Regions from separate parts of the Homo sapiens genome. Here region 1 is linked to region 2. Evidence: promoter capture Hi-C in human tissues and cell types (Jung and others, 2019). All regions are on one chromosome and are shown on one strand. Each heading gives the region's core, a stretch centred on a gene start or on the middle of the fragment in contact. The rest is flanking DNA. Distances are from core to core; before and after follow the strand shown. Region 1 holds the start of IGFLR1 (IGF like family receptor 1). Region 2 holds the start of GRAMD1A (GRAM domain containing 1A).

The links. The method cuts DNA at HindIII sites, captures the fragments that hold promoters and counts their contacts. A contact is called where the count stands out against the background at its distance.
Region 1: the fragment with the promoter of IGFLR1 here is called in contact with the fragment with the promoter of GRAMD1A in region 2 in 1 of the 25 tissues and cell types used here (spleen).

What each region holds. Positions count from the first base shown.
Region 1 is chr19:35,740,577-35,744,099 of GRCh38, forward strand. It overlaps IGFLR1 (IGF like family receptor 1), which reads right to left and starts at 1,876. Exons shown (of 5, transcript NM_024660.4): 1 at 1,820-1,876; 2 at 448-647. The coding sequence starts at 604. U2AF1L4 (U2 small nuclear RNA auxiliary factor 1 like 4) reads right to left here. Exons shown (of 6, transcript NM_001040425.3): 4 at 3,436-3,523; 5 at 3,233-3,328; 6 at 1,951-2,227. The coding sequence ends at 2,143. RefSeq lists silencers at 1-91, 3,394-3,523 and enhancers at 172-281, 1,629-2,058. The HindIII fragment of the contact is 13,678 bases long and covers 1-3,523 here.
Region 2 is chr19:34,998,338-35,001,701 of GRCh38, forward strand. GRAMD1A (GRAM domain containing 1A) reads left to right here and starts at 1,986. Exons shown (of 20, transcript NM_020895.5): 1 at 1,986-2,149. The coding sequence starts at 2,142. RefSeq lists an enhancer at 1-46 and silencers at 1,821-2,200, 2,471-2,600. The HindIII fragment of the contact is 31,318 bases long and covers 1-3,364 here.

The sequences.
Region 1 (3,523 bases), core at 626-3,125, 740 kb after region 2:
CTGCGCTCCAGTGCGGCCGCCTAGCCCGCCCCTGCGCGGGCAACGCCCTCTCCCTTCGCCCTATCCCAGCGTGCCCCGCCCCTCCAGGACGCTTCCAGCCTATTAGCGTGCGCCCCGGTCTTGTCACTTTTCTCCGGGCTCGCCTTTTCACCCCCCTCCAGCCTGCTCCGCACGAAGCTCCGCCCACTCCCGGCTTCTCTACATAAAGCCCACCCTTTCCACGCGGCCCCTATCCCGCCTCTCCAGCCATATCCATTCGCTGTTGCCCTACGGTAGCCCGCACTATCTGCACAGGCTCTGCCTGCCATCCCTGTCTGATCTGCATAAGGCCCACCGCTTAGACCCCTAAGCAAGCCTCTCTGGCCCGTAGCCCACAGACCTCGCCCCTTCCCCGCTCCCTATCACCTGCAAGCTCCGCCCAAGCAAGGCTCGGTCTCGGATTCTCACCCGGGCAGGGGGGCGGCCCGAAGCGTTGCAGGCAGCTGCTGCAGCACTTGTTGTCTGGGTTCCAGTATTCAAGGCGGCCGCAGTACTGGGAGGCTTCCGGCGGTGGCGCCAGGGCCAGAAGCAACAAGGCCGTCAGGAGGCATCGTCCAGGCCCCATCTGGGGGGCCGTGATAGCGGGACTTCCAAACACAGCGCCTCTGCTACACTTTCCGGGGAAATCGGGCAGAAGAAAGGACGCGGTGATGTGGGGGAACAGAATTCTCACGCCTCTTCGGAAGCCGGGAATCTACCCCCGAGCCCTCATCCCCCAACTGAGCCGGTTATCAGAGAAGCCCACAAGGCCACTAGGGGACTAACAGGGCTGCGGATCTAGATTGCAAGAATGCATATCCCACCTCTGCCGTGTCCTCACCCACCCACCCTCCCTTTTCCATCCCTAAAATAAGACAATGATAGCACCTGTCTCATAGGGTTATTGTGGAGAATTAGAACCGTCATTAGAAGTAAAGCAGGGGCTGGGTGTGGTGGCTCATGCCTGTAATCCCAACACTTTGGGAGGCCAAGACAGGAGGATCACTTGAGCCCAGGAGTTCGAGAGATCAGCCTGGACAACAAAATGAAACCCCATCTTTACAAAAAAAAAAAAAAAAAAAAAAAACAGCAAAGCACTTTGCCAAGTGCAGTGGCTCACGTCTGTAGTCCCTGCTACTAGGGAGGCCAAGGTAGGAGGATTGCTTGAGCCATGAATTACAGACCAGCCTGGGCAACACAGCAAGACCTCATCTCTAAAAACAAAAAAAACTGGCCGCCGGGCGCAGTGGCTCATGCCTGTAATCCCAACACTTTGGGAGGCCCAGGTGGGTGGATCACCTGAGGTCAGTAGTTCAAAACCAGCCTGGCCTACATGGTGAAACCCTGTCTCTATTAAAAATACAAAATTAGCCGGGCGTGGTAGCGCATGCCTGTAAATCCCAGCTACTTGGGAGGCTGAGGCAGAATTGCTTGAACCTGGGAAGTGGAGGCTGCAGTGAGCTGAGATCGTGCCATTGCACTCCAGCCTGGGCAACAGGAATGAAACTCCTTAAAAAAAACAAAAACAAACTAAAGTGCTGAAAACAGCACCTCACATACAGTAAACTCAGTGTTTAAGTGTAAGGCATTACTAACTCCCATCACAATTCGGCAGGCACGGAGGAGTCAGCCCCATACTGGCTGGAGACCACCTCCCAGCACCTCACCTCACCTTTGAATCCTAATCTCCTTGGGGCTAGGGCTCCTCCCACCTGCCACAACCAGGTCTCTCCCCCTTGAATAAGCCTCAGATGGAGGTGCTAAGGTTTTCAGCACAAAGGTGTCCCCACCCTACCAGTACCGTTAGGGTCCTGGGTCCCAAGCTGGCCGTGCCAAGTTCCTCAGCTGAAGTTGTGGCCAGGACCCAGTCTTGTTTCCCCTTTTCGTCACATGTGTGGGTGGAGGGAAATGCCAAACCACAGCAAAAGCAAGTTGATGCCGAAGTGAAACACGCAGCTTTATTAAGACAGGGGCGGTAGAAGAAGGTCTCCATGCTGAACAGATTACATTATGGAGCCCGGGAGCCTGGGAAGGATGGGGCAGGAGAGTGAAGGGGGCTTTGAGGAGAGGTCCTGCCAGGAACATCTGTCCCTGTTGGGGGTGAAGGGTAAGGGGGCCAGGGCCTCAGAAGCGGCCATGCCAGTGATCAGGGGAACACCGATGGTTCCTCTCTCGGGGATGGTGGCCAGTATGGAACCTCGGGGGTGACCTGGGAATAGGAGCGTTGAGAGTTCTGTTAGAACCCTGAGGAGTGGTGCAGAGATCCTGCAGGCCTGCCTCTCTGCTCTGGGATGAGGCAGGAGGGTGCTGAAATAACTAGAGTTCTAAGACACGACCTCAGTGGCCAGTATCAGGGGAACTCAGTGGCCAGTATCAGGGGTGGCAATCCAGGCTGGTCGTGGATTAGGGGTTCAGGCTGGTTTGGGGATTGGGACTTAGGTACTGGTCTCCAGATGGAGCTCAGAACTACTCTTAGGGTATAAGAGTCTTGGGAATGACCGGGCGCAGTGGTTCACGCCTGTAATCCCCACACTTTGGGAGGCCGAGATGGGTGGATTACCTGAGGTCCGGAGTTCGAGACCAGGCTGGCCAACGTGGTGAAACCCCATCTCTACTAAAAATACAAAAATTAGCCAGGCATGGTGGCAGGTGCCTATAATCCCAGCTACTTGGGAGGCTGAGAAAGGAGAATTGCTTGAACCTGGGAGGCAGAGGTTGCACTGAGCCAAGACTGCGCCTTTGCACTCCAGCCTGCGGAAGAAGAGCAAAACTCCGTCTCAAAAAAAAAAAAAAAAAAAAAAAAAAAAAACAGTCAGCCGGGAGTGGTGGCTCACGCCTGTAATCCCAGCACTTTGGGAGGGTGAGGCAGGTGGATCACGAGGTTAGGAGTTCAGACCAGCCTGGCCAAGATGGTGAAACCCCATCTCTACTAAAAACACAAAAATTAGCCGGGCATGGTGGCAGGTGCCTGTAATCCCAGCTATTTGGGAGGCTGAGGCAGAGAATTGCTTGAACCCGGGAGGCGGAAGTTGCCATGAACCAAGATGGTGCCAATGCACTCCAGCCTGGGCAACAGAGTGAGGCTCCATCTCAAAAAAAAAAAAAAAAAAAAAAGATTCTTGGGAACGTGGTTACTGGGGCTTAGGGTTAGGCTCATCTGAGGATATAGGGGCCTTAGGACATGAGGAGACATAGCAGGCTGGTCCTGAGGTACCTGCGCCTGGGTCCCCGCCCATAGAGCTGCCTCTGGAGGTTCTGGGAAATGGGCCGCAGATGCATGAAGTTGCAGAAGCCACCTCGGGTACATTCCCTGCATAGAGGGTAGAGAGATGGAGGAAGCCATTGTCACTGACAGCCCCTACCACGCATTCAAAGTCTGGGATTCCAAGTGCCCATCCCACCCTTGAACTACCATACCCCATCTCATACTGGCGACAGCATGACTCCCGGAAGTCAGTGACAGGAGACAGCTCACCGTGCACAGCCTGCCCGTTGAACCAGCGGT
Region 2 (3,364 bases), core at 736-3,235:
CTGTTGTCCAGGCTGGAGCGCAGTGGTGCGATCCTGGCTCACTGCAACTTCCACCTCCCGGGTTCAAGCAATTCTCCTGCCTCAGCTTCCTGGGTAGCTGGGATTACAGGTGCAAGCCACTACACCTGGCTAATTTTTTTGTATTTTTGATAGAGATGGGGTTTCACTCTGTTGGCCAGGCTGGTCTCGAACTCCTGATAGGTGATCCACCCTCCTTGGCCTCCCAAAGTGCTGGGATTACAGGCGTGACCCAACGCGCCTGACCTGAAATAAATATTATTTAATTAAAAAACTAAAAGCATTACACTAGAAGAAACAGACCAAAGAGAAATCTAAAGAGATCAGTTGGACAGAGGAAGGTGGTGGGAGGAGGGCCTCTCTTCCATTGGCCGGTGGGAGGCAGCAAATGTCAGATGGTGGATGGGGGTTTTAGAGGTGGGGGTTAGCATGAGAGGTAGGGCACGGCGATAGGGGGGGTGCTGTCCATGCAGAGGGAATAACCAGTGCAAAGGTCTTGGGGTAGGAGGCAGGAAGGTGCCTGGTGAGTTAGAAGAACAGCGGGTAGGCTGGATGGGGGGTGTGAGCCAGGGGGAGATGAGGAGCTGAAGTCAGAGAGCTGACAGGGGCCTTGGGTGCCAAGGTGAGGACTTTGCTTTTACCTGGAGTGAGGTACAGCTGGGGCAGGGCTCTGAGCCAGGAGGGTAGTTAACTGACTCAGGTGGTCCCAGGCTCTCTCTGGCTGCAGGTGAGAACAGACAGTAGGGGCAGGGATGGGAGCAGGGAGATCAGGCAGGAGAGGATGGAGGCTGGGCCAGGGCGTGGGCAGCGGAGGAAGAAGAGTTTAGAATGGAGCGATTGATTTTATACGTGGAGCCCACAGTTTGTGACGGATTGGATGTGGTGTGAAGGAAAAGAGAGGGTCAGAAAAGACTCTGAAGTTCTGGGCCTGCCATTCATCAAAATGGAGAAGTCAGGTGGGCTTCTTTTGCAGGAGGAGGGGAAGGGTTGATGGAGAGGGTTGGGAAGGGAGTTTTTTCAAAAGAGGCGGGGACAGCGTACCCTGGAGAGCGCTGGGGAGCCACAGCCCCGGAGCTGTGAGGTGGGACTCGCATTTCTGTGTGGTTGGGCCAGGAGTCCAGGACACCACCTGACTCTGACCTCTTGCAGACGGGGCGGGGGAGGGGGGACGCAGGTTATGGCGTCAGAGCAGGATCGAATCCAACTCTGCCGCCTACCTACCAGGTGACCCCAACAAGTCACTTCCCATCTTAGAGGCCGGGCTTCTCCTTCCGTAAAAGGACTGATTTTGCCCGTTCCTGCGCTGTCCCCGGGAAAAGCCCTTACCACCGAGTTAGTGGGACTCCCAGCACTGGGGTGATGAGCGCAAGGTCTCAGCACAGATAAGAGCCAGGGAGGCTGGATTCTGACTTGGTACTTGGCCTGGCTGACCAAAACTGGGAAGTCCCTAGAAACGGAGGCACCGGACCTCCTGGGACCAGGAACCCGGGCTCAGAGACTGGGAGAGGGAAGGAGGAGGCGGCCAACCGGCCCCACCCCTTCCCGCCAGCTTCAGGCCCCCTCCCCCATACATACACCTCGGTTTCCCAGCATCTCCAGTCCTCCCCCACCTTCGCCCCGGCTCTCAGGTTCCTCCCTGGGAGGTCCAGGAGCTTCTGGCCAGGGGCATAGTAGTTGCTAGGGACCCTTTTCTAGGTACTAGGGGAGGGGGCTCCCCAACCTGCGGGCAGGCAGCTGCCTCCACGATGTTTGGTTTTAATAAAGTCTCTTTGTTTCCTTCTCTGTCTCTCTGCCCCTCTGCTTTCCCTTCTCTGTCCAGTCCCTCTCTCCCCGGCTTCTCCCTCCTTCTAGGCCTCTGCGGCCCCTCCCCGCCTTCCCTCCCGGGCTGGGGGCGGCGCCGTGACGCGGCGGGGCGGGGGAAGGAAGGGGGTGTCGCTGACGCCGCGGCGGCCTCCGGCGGCTCCGGCCTTTTGTGCGGGCGGTTGGGTCGGGTGGGGGCGGCGGCCGCGGAAGGCCAGGCCGGTGCCCTGCGGGGACGCCCAGCGCAGCCCAGCCCCGCGCAGCCCAGCCCTGCCCTGCCCTGCCCTGCCCTGCGCCCGGGGCGCGCCCACCGCGCCGCATCCATGTTCGAGTAAGGACCGGGCGACTAGAGCTCAGGGACCGGGCGCGCGGGGGAGGCCACCGGAGGGAGGGGGCGCCGCGGGCTTGGGGAGGGGGCGGAGCGGCCGCTGCAGAGGTCGGGGGCCTCTGCACATGGCTCTGGCCGGGGCGATCGGGGTGGGGGCGGGGCAGGGGGCCCCCGGGCGAGGGGTGCAGCTGGGGAGTGGGGCGCGGACGCAGGGCAGGGCCCGGGGTCTGGGTCGCCACTGCCGGCCCGCGACGCACTGGGTTGCGGGGTTTGGCTGGGGGCCCGCGGGTTCATCTGGCGGGGAGGGCCCTCAGGCCTGGCAACCCCCTGCCTGGTAAGCCAGGGGTGAGCGCGAGGCCGAACTGGGGCTCCGGCCTGGGATGGAGACAGGATCGGGACCAGCCCAGGCCCACAGGCCGCGGAGCCCTGGGCGCGCCGGGAGTAGGCAGCCCCCTCCTGCCTGGGCCCCCTCCCACCGTCCTTGGCTGTTGCGGGTCTCGGGGCTGCCGGGGGTGGGGGCTTCCTGCGTCTCTCCAGGACCGCGTGCTTGAGGTCATGGAGGGCGGGGGGTCCTGTGTGCTCGGAATTGACTTCTTACTCCCCTTCCGGTCCAGGTGGGCGCATGTGCTTCCGACTGTGAATTGTCTTGCAAGTGTGTGTACGTGTGTCTGGGGCTGCTAGCCTGCAGCAGCTTTGGGCCTCTGATAGAGTTCCTGCGTGTAACTTAACCACTAATTCTGACCGCGGCTCTGTGTGTCACTGTAAGTTACCTGTGTGTGTCTGGGGCTCCAAATCTGTGGCTGTGAGCAGCTGGTTGTGTGCGTGTTGTGTCTCATTCCATCTGTAGCTCCCTGTGCAAATATAAATTACCCCTGTGTGTCTGAGTGTGACGTTGGAGTGTTTGTACATGTGTCTGGAGTTACCGTGTGTAGCAGCTCTGATCCTTCTTGGGCTGTGTGTGTTTTACCATTAATTCTATCTGTAGCTCCAAGCGTTGCTGTAAGTTACCAGTGTGCGTCCCATTGTGACTTAGTGGTGTGTGTACAAGTGTGCCTGGGGCTCTGGGTTCTACCATGACCCTCTGTGCCTGCATATGCCTGTAATTTAGCTCTGAAACGCTCTTCTTTTTTTTTTTTTCTTTTGAAATAGAGTCTGGCTCTGTCGCCCAGGCTAGAGTGCAGTGGCACGATCTCGGCCCACTGCAACCTCCTCCTGCTG